2 separate regions of the Homo sapiens genome follow, and region 1 is linked to region 2. Evidence: promoter capture Hi-C in 16 types of primary human blood cells and fetal thymus (Javierre and others, 2016). All regions are on one chromosome and are shown on one strand. The core of a region is centred on a gene start or on the middle of the fragment in contact, and the rest is flanking DNA. Distances in the headings are between cores, read along the strand shown. Region 1 overlaps DTYMK (deoxythymidylate kinase). Region 2 holds the start of FARP2 (FERM, ARH/RhoGEF and pleckstrin domain protein 2).

Region 1 (4,338 bases), core at 607-3,106, 320 kb after region 2:
CCAGCCTGCGAGTCCACTGGGAGGGGAGAGTCCAGCGTCCTGGGAGCAGAGCCAGACCTGGGACTGCTGAGATTGAAGGAGGCAGGACTGAAGGGAGAGGCAGCACACAGCACCCTCCTGAACTTAGATGGCCAGGTGCTGCTGCAGGGCCCATGCCCAGCGAGAGGCCGCACCAGAGGACACAGTGGCAGGAACAGGCTGGCGCTCGTGTCTGAAGAGGGGCTGAGGATGTGGAGGATTGCGCAGACTCTCACCTGACCCACCAGACAAAGCGCCAAATGTCAACATTTAGCAAAACTCATCGGGTTAGAATTTGCTGGCACTGGCCGGGCGCGATGGCTCATGCCTATAATCCCAGCACTTTGGGAGGCCGAGGTGGGCAGATCACCTGAGGTCAGGAGTTGGAGACCAGCCTGACCAACGTGGAGAAACCCCATCTCTACAAAAAAAATTAGCCAGGCATGATGGCACGTGCCTGTAATCCCAGCTACTCGGGAGGCTGAGGCAGGAGAATCACTTGAACCCAAGAAGCGGAGGTTGCAGTGAGCTGAGATCGTGCCATTGCACTCCAGCCTGGGTTGGCACCCAGAGCAAGATTCTGTCTCAAAAAAAAAAGAATTTGCTGGCACCGAGAACCCCTGAACGACTACTCCCGGGGCTCCACATCTGGGAGGACCAGACGGAAACGGCAGCAGCTTTGCTGACACAACTGTGCCAGCCACCACGGTGTCATCCTGAGCCACTTCTCCACGCTTCCTAGTGTGCAATTCTGGGATTCTCACCTTCCAGTTCAAAGTCGTGTCTTTCATGAGCTGGTGGAAACACCGGAGCGCCCGCTCCTGGAAAGCCCCGTTCTCATAGCGCTCATGGCCAAACGCTCCCCGCTTGGCAGCATCCGCCAGCTGTAACTGGAGGAACAGGACCAGGTCGGGTTTGGGAAGGCCCACGTCTGGCTGTTTACACCAATCTAGGGAAAAATTCTGCCAAGAAAGAACCCAACAGTTAAAGCTTAGTGTAGTCTAGGTTTTTGTTTCGAAAGTCGTAAAAACAGGAAAAAATGAGGGGACATTTGGTGAGGTACCAAGATGTGAGACTGTTTATATTGTGGCTCGTTTAATTTTTAGAACCTCAAACGTGTCGGTTTCTCCAGTGTCACCTTTGTTTTTCCTTTGTAAACAGACAAGTGGACAGAAAAGTAGGTAGATAGAACGGCTGCCAGTCCCCGCCACCCACAGCCCAGGCCCCATGGAGGCCCTCCCAGCACAGCTACAGGCCTGCTGGCCAGGAGCAAACAGTCTATGTACAGAACCCCTGGAGACCCCCGGCCTAGAACGCCTGCAGCACAGAGCAGCTGGGTCCGGACACAGGCACGAGGTCCTTGGCAGTGTCTTTTCTGCCACACACACGCCAGGGTCTCCTCTCCCGTGGAAGAGCAGGAAGAAGACAGGCACTCCTAGAGCCTGTTATGTGCCAGCCTAGTCTCATCCACTGGCCCTTCTTGCCAGGGCTGTGCCAGCACCCTCTCTCCCTCCCTTACTCATCCCATCTCCCTCCAAATGCTGTCCTGTTTCCGGAGGAAAGGTAGGACCAGAAAGGCTGTGACTGCAGGCCACACATCACACAACAGCACAATGAGCTGAGGGAAGGCGTCCACGAGAACCTCCCACAGAGCCTGCGGCTCTGTCAGCTGATCCGCACAGCAGGAAGAAGCAAAGGAATCATGAGTCTTGTCCTCCTTATTATACAACGTAATACTTCAGAGGGGAAGGACTCAAGCTAACACATGAAGAAATGGCAGAATTAAAAAGTGAGGGCGTGGCCGGGCACGGTGGCTCGCGCCTGTAATCCCAGCACTTTGGGAGGCTGAAGCGGGAGGATCACTTGGGCCCAAGAGTTGTTATAGCGAGCTTTGCTTGTTCCACTGTACTCCAGCCTGGGCAACAGAGGGAGACGCCCTCTTTCAAAAAACGGGGGAAAAAAGTACTACAAATGAACCATCTTTGAAAATGCATCTGGAGGCTGGGTGCAGTGGCTCATGCCTGTAATCCTAGCACTTTGGGAGGCTGAGATGAGTGGATCACTTGAGGTCAGGAGTTTGAGACCAGCCTGGCCAACATGGTAAAACCCCGTCTCTACTAAAAGTATGAAAATTAGCTGGGCACGGTGGTGCATGCCTATAATCCCAGATACTCGGGAGACTGAGGCAGGATAATCGCTTGAACTCAGGAGGCAGAGGTTGCAATGAGCTGAGATCGTGCCACTGCACTCCAGCCTGGGTGACAGAATGAGAGACTGTCTCCCCAAAAAAAAAAAAAAAAGCGTGTGGAAAATATAATCCAAATACCAACTATGGTTCTATCTGTGAAACAATCTCTAGCTACATAAATGTTTGCTCTTCTTATTGATAAAACCAAATTAATCTAGCAAAGAGATAAAAGGAATATAAGAATCACGAAACTCTGCAGAGTAATCTGAGGCATGTCACTCGTACTCGCATTCAAGGGCAGTCCTGGGTCCACACATCTGTGCTCGCCTGACAGGAGGCCAAGTGGCACTCACCTCCTTGGCACCGGTGAAGGCCACACCAGAAAATGCGTATCTGTCCACGACGAGGGTCACGCCCTGGCTCAACTTTTCCTTAATTAACGGCCTGAAAAAGAGGATGCTCCTGAGCCCTGGTCCTGTTTCATAGGCCTTGAACTGTCAAGCTTAAATTATCCCAACAGGCTGTGCGCAGTGGCTCACCCCTATAATCCCAGCGCTTTGGGAGGCTGAGGCGGGCGGATCACAAGGTCAGGAGATCGAGACCATCCTGGCTAACATGGTGAAACCCTGTCTCTACTAATACAAAATATTAGCTGGACATGGTGGCAGGCACCTGTAATCCCAGCTACTCGGGAGGCTGAGGCAGGAGAATTGCTTGAACCCAGGAGGTGGAGGTTGCAGTGAGCCGAGATCACACCACTGCATTCCAGCCTGGGTGACACAGCGAGACTCCATCTCAAAAAAAGAAAAAGAAAATTATCCCAACAATACAACTCAGAAATCTCATATGACAACAAGTACAGCACAGTGATTTGTAACCTTACTTTTAATCCAAAAAGGTCTGGATCTTCTCTAGAAGATGCCATACCCACACCTCCAGCAAAACCCAACATGGAGAAGATAACCTTACTAAATAGTAACAAACACAACTGGTAAAGTTCAATGTTCCAGAAACACGGCAGGGGAAAGGAGATGCACTGTCAGCTGTCTTGGTCAGAGAGGCCAGCTCTACCCTGTCGAGGAAGAAGAAAGCACAGGCAAAGAAGAGAGCAGAGGATGGTGGCGGGGGAAGCGTGGGCACAGCCAGCAGGTGACTCATCCATGCTCATGACCCCTAGCCTGGACTGCAAGGATGTTCTCAGCCAAATACCACAAGTCCACCATCATCCCTACAGCTGCCAAGATCACAGATGTACAAAGACACGGGGCCTGACACTAGTGAGAAGCACTGCTCAAGACAGAGAAAGAAAAGTCCGATTCATTCGACTCAGCCAGTCTCACTGGGGCCTTCAAATCACAGGGGCACCCACATAAGGAGTCAACTGGCCTCTGACAAAGCAGCAGAGGGATGCAATGGTGCAAAGGCATTTTCCTCAATAAACGCTGCTGGAACAACTGGACATCCTCATGAAAGAGAATAAATCTAGACCAGACCGTATACCCTCCACGAACATAAATTCAAAATGAATCACAGGCCTGGCACGGTGGCTCACGCCTGTAATCCCAGCTTTCAAGGAGGCAGAGGCAGGAGGATTGCTTGAGCCCAGGAGCTCGAGACCTGCCTGGGCAATATAGTGAGACCCCGTTCTCCACAAAAAGTGGGGGAAAAAAAAGACAAAATGAATCACAGACCCAAATGTAAAATGCAAAACTATGCAACTCCTAGACAGTAACACAGGAGAAAACTTAGATCACCTGGGGTTTGGCAGACTGTTTAGATACAAAACCAAAGGCACAGCCCATGAGAGAATTGATTAAGATGGACTTCACGAAAATAATAACTTTGTGCTTTGTGAGAGACACTGTCAAGAGAAGGAAAGGACAGCCGGACGTGGTGGCTCATGCCTGTGAGCCCAGCACTTTTGGAAGCCATTTGGCGGGATGGATCCCTTGAGGCCAGGTGTTTGAGACCAGCCTGAGTAACAATAGTGAGACCCCATCTCTACAAAAAATGTAAAAATTAGCCAGGGATAGTGGCACGCACCTGTAGTCCTAGCTACTCCAGAGGCTGAGGCAGGAGGATCACTTGAACCCAGGAGTTTAAGGCTGCAGTAAGCTGTGATCATGCCACAA
Region 2 (4,243 bases), core at 1-2,500:
CACAGCACCATAGGAGGAGTCTCTTAAGTGCCCGGGTGTTTCCTGAAGTTAATTATTCCCTCAACAGCCACATGGTGACAGTGGGTGACAGGGCCGGGCTAGGAGAGCACGATGGGTAGGGTCTTGAAGAACACATAGGAGTTCAATGAACTTCTCAAGAGAAGGGAAGTGTGCCACAGCAAGTCAGTCTTCCATTCTCGGGTGGGGGTCCCTAGGCCAGAGGAAGGCCGTCCTGGCCGCCACCACGGAGCAGCCTGTCTCAGCCTTAGCACAGCCTCGCGCGATCCTTCGATGATCCCCTTCGGTCCCTGTAGTCCCACGAGGGATGCAATGCGTTGGAGGAAGGAGGAGGCTGGCAGCCAGGGACTGAGCCAAAGGGTGCAAGGACAGCCGGCAAGGCCCGGGCCAAGACCTATCCCCGCCCAGCGAGCCAGGCCTCGCCCAGCACCTATCCGCGCCCAGCAAGCCTAGGCCTCGCCCAGCACCTATCCGCGCCCAGCAAGCCTAGGCCTCGCCCAGCACCTATCCGCGCCCAGCGAGCCTAGACCTCGCCCAAGACCTAGCCCCGCCCAGCGAGCCGACTCCCCGCCCAGGACCTAGCCCCGCCCAGCGAGCCGACTCCCCGCCCAGGACCTAGCCCCGCCCAGCGAGCCGACTCCCCGCCCAGGACCTAGCCCCGCCCAGCGAGCCGACTCCCCGCCCAGGACCTAGCCCCGCCCAGCGAGCCGACTCCCCGCCCAGGACCTAGCCCCGCCCAGCGAGCCGACTCCCCGCCCAGGACCTAGCCCCGCCCAGCGAGCCGACTCCCCGCCCAGGACCTAGCCCCGCCCAGCGAGCCGACTCCCCGCCCAGGACCTAGCCCCGCCCAGCGAGCCGACTCCCCGCCCAGGACCTAGCCCCGCCCAGCGAGCCGACTCCCCGCCCAGGACCTAGCCCCACCCAACGAGCCGACTCCCCGCCCAAGATCTAGCCCCGCCCAGCGAGCCTTGGCTTCGCCTAGGACATTGCCTCGCTCAGCAAGCCGACGCCCCGCCCAACGAGCCGAGCGCTGCACAGATTTATATCCTACGCAGCTGCCTGCCTGCTCCCGCCCCTTCTCCGTCCGTTCACCAATCAGAACTCGATCTTGCGCTTTCAGGCCGCGGGACGGGAAGGCTCCGCCCTGGCGCCCCGCAGGCCAATCGACTGCGCGTCCGCGTCGCGGGGGCGGGGTCAGGGCGGGGCGCGCTGCGCGGGGGCTGCCGGCGGGCAGTTGGGAGCAGGCGACGCCGACGCGAGTCTGGCGGCTGCTGCTTGCGACTGCGGAGGCCGGGCGAGGCCGGTGAGGACGCGGCGGGCGAGCGAGAGGCCGAGGGTGAGGACGTGAAGCGGCCTGGGCGCGTGGGGCAGGGGTGGGCCTCTCCGGGTGGGCGGCGAAGCCCGAGGCCCGAGGCGAGAGGCCCAGGCGGGGGGGGCGCTGAGGCCGCGGTCCACCAGAGATGGTCCCGCCCGGCCTCTGAAGGCCATCGTGAGGCGGCTGGAGCTCCTAGGCGGGTCCGGGTTAGAGGAGCGTCCGTCTGTAGGGAGCCTGCCGCGTGGGGGCAGGCGGGGCGGTGGGCCGGGGAGTGGCCCGCGTGGACTCCCGGGTTGAGGGGTGCCGCGTGGAGGAGGCCGGTGGGGCTGTAGACCGGGGAGTGTCCCGCGTGGACTCGCGGGTTGAGTTGTGCCCCGTGGAGGCCGGCAGGGCCGTGGGCCGGGGAGTGTCCCATCCCGGAAGGACACCCCAGAGTGGGCCATAGGGACCCGCAGGGTATGGGCCTGGAGGTGCCTGGTGGAGGCATTTTGAGCCGTTTGCCTTTTTAGCATTTCTTTAAATTGTATCTTAAAGGTGGGAATCAAGTGTTAGGTGTTAATATTTTTACTCCACTAAGGGCTAGAAATACTCATAAGCCAGTGGGTAGCCTTTGGGAAACCCATGAAAACTGGGGACCAGAATATGGCCCAGTACATTACACACCCGAATTACGGGCACCTTTTCCGTTTACGCTATGGCAGCAACCCCTGGCCTATCATGTGCCATTAATGGATGTGAAAAGCAGAAATTAGAACAAGGCATCATTGAAGGAAAGATTGTCAATACATAGTGTTAAAAAGGGATGGGCAAATTTAAAACCCAAGGCCAAATCTTTAAAGGGTGGTTTTTCTCTCTGGGTTTTTGTTTTTGTTTTGTTTCCGTGGGATATTTTTGTCTGGGCCACTGTGTAAATGTTTGATAACCCTGAGGTGGCAGTGGGTTAGCGTGTTGGTCTTGTGTAGACTGCCTTATAACAGGCGACACAGATTTTCTCAGTACCAGAGAGATGGGAGAGGACATTTGAGGTAGGGAAGCATGGAGTAACCTTTACTTGTAGGCCAAATATAATTTAAATTTTCTACATCTGCTTGTTGAAAGTTTTGTTTTGTTTTGTTTTTTGAGGTCCTTAAAGGTTTAGGAAGCACTTCATGCTCGTTATTTATTCAGTTTTCCAAAACTCTTCAGAGACATGACCAAGTTGCACAGCCCCGTTTTAAAGTAGAGGAAAGGGAGGTTGAGAGAGGTGGAATGACCAGTTTAGGGTCACACCTAGGGTACTTGCAAATACCATCTGTACTTCTCATGTGCCCTATCCTTGTTGCAGATTCTCATTAGGTGGTTCACTGTTAACAAACTAAATGCTGATGATGCAGTTTCCTGGACTGCAGACGTTTGCTGGCTTATTTACCTATAGGACTATCAGTCGTTAGTAAATTTCCAGGTTCCTTGTATACTAATTCCTTTCCCAAAGAGGAAGTTGATATAAGGTGTATTCATTTCTCTCTGCCTCAGGTTCCTTATTCAAAAAATGAGTTTAAAATTTACTTGGCCAGGCACAGTGGCTGTAATCCCAGCACTTTGGGAGGCCGAGGCAGGCAGATTGCATGAGCTCAGGGGTTCCAGACCAGCCTGCTCAACAGGGCGAAACCCCATCTCTACTAAAAATACAAAAATTAGCTGGGCTGGTGGCGCACGCCTGTAATCATAGCTACTTGAGAGGCTGAGGCACGAGAATCACTTGAACCCAGGAGGTGGAGGTTGCATTGAGCCAAGATTGTGCCACTGCACTTCATCCTGGGCGACAGAGCGAGACTCTGTCTCAAAAAAATAAAAAAATAAATAAAAAAAGCTGTGTTAACAAGATGCCTGGCACAAGGTAAGTGCTTAATAAATGTTAGCCATTATTATTATCAGGTGGACAAATAATCCGAGTAGAAAGTAGAACAAGCTAACCCTGGATATTTACAAAAAACAGTAGAGAAAAAATTAGGCAATAATTAAGCAAATTTATCCTGTTTAGAGGGAATGGTATGAACTGGATTGCCAAAGCAAAGATCAATGCATGGGCAATTCCATGTGAGCTCATTTAAATCCATTTGGCCCAAAGAATTCAGTTGCTTCCTTCCTTTCCAAACACCCCTGCTTCTAGTCACATCAATACCTCTTCTATATTCGGACAGTAACAGATTTTTCTTACTGCTGCTTGTCCTTTCAGTTTTGTTCTTATTTTTCCTTCACCCACTTTCATATCAGCTTGCCAGCTTCCCCTTTACTCAGTGCGTCATGAGCTTCATAAACACAGCATAGTGCTAGATATACAGGCAAAACCCCATTGTAGTGTTGGATACTGAGCTGAGGTAATTCCGGTCATGTTCTCTGAGATCAGAATATAGAGTCCTTTGACCATAGCGTATTTGTCAATGCCACAGGGAGTTGAAAAGTTGAGGATCCTACAAAGCAATATGATAAAGCCCAGTCTTTGGTGATTTTCTGGGGAGCGTTTAGTTGACAGTGATTCTATAAATTGGTCTAATCTTTTTGGAAAGTAGCAGTATGTGGCAAAGATTTTGATTTTGGAATCACACTTTTCAAAACAATCTGATAAACTTTGTTGTGTCAGTAGGGTAGAGTACTCCATAGCAAGTAAACATGCTTCCACAAGCTGAATCCCATCCTCCCATCCAAGGAAAATTTGAACCATTTTGATCCATGGAAATATGCTTTAAAATGTGACTTAACTGAAAAGTTGAAATGGTGTGTACACAGCAATCATAGTGTTGTAAAAATACATGAGGAGGTGAACAGGATCAGGAGGGTAGTTAGAGTGTTGTAAGTGGTTTTATTTTAAGAGTCATGAATTGTTTTCCCCTAAACTGGTGTTTTAGCTTATTGCCATTTTAAAATTCAAAA

The links. The method cuts DNA at HindIII sites, captures the fragments that hold promoters and counts their contacts. A CHiCAGO score of 5 or more calls a contact.
Region 1: a contact is called between a fragment that was not itself captured here and the fragment with the promoter of FARP2 in region 2, in 1 of 17 cell types (neutrophils). The highest score is 6.7, in neutrophils.

What each region holds. Positions count from the first base shown.
Region 1 is chr2:241,677,670-241,682,007 of GRCh38, forward strand. DTYMK (deoxythymidylate kinase) reads right to left here. Exons shown (of 5, transcript NM_012145.4): 3 at 2,560-2,650; 4 at 783-980. Among named protein-coding and RNA genes, the nearest start is that of DTYMK, 7.0 kb to the right of the region's middle. The HindIII fragment of the contact is 1,700 bases long and covers 1,007-2,706 here.
Region 2 is chr2:241,355,035-241,359,277 of GRCh38, forward strand. FARP2 (FERM, ARH/RhoGEF and pleckstrin domain protein 2) reads left to right here and starts at 1,251. Exons shown (of 27, transcript NM_014808.4): 1 at 1,251-1,354. RefSeq lists a silencer at 1,039-1,588. The HindIII fragment of the contact is 16,715 bases long and covers 1-4,243 here.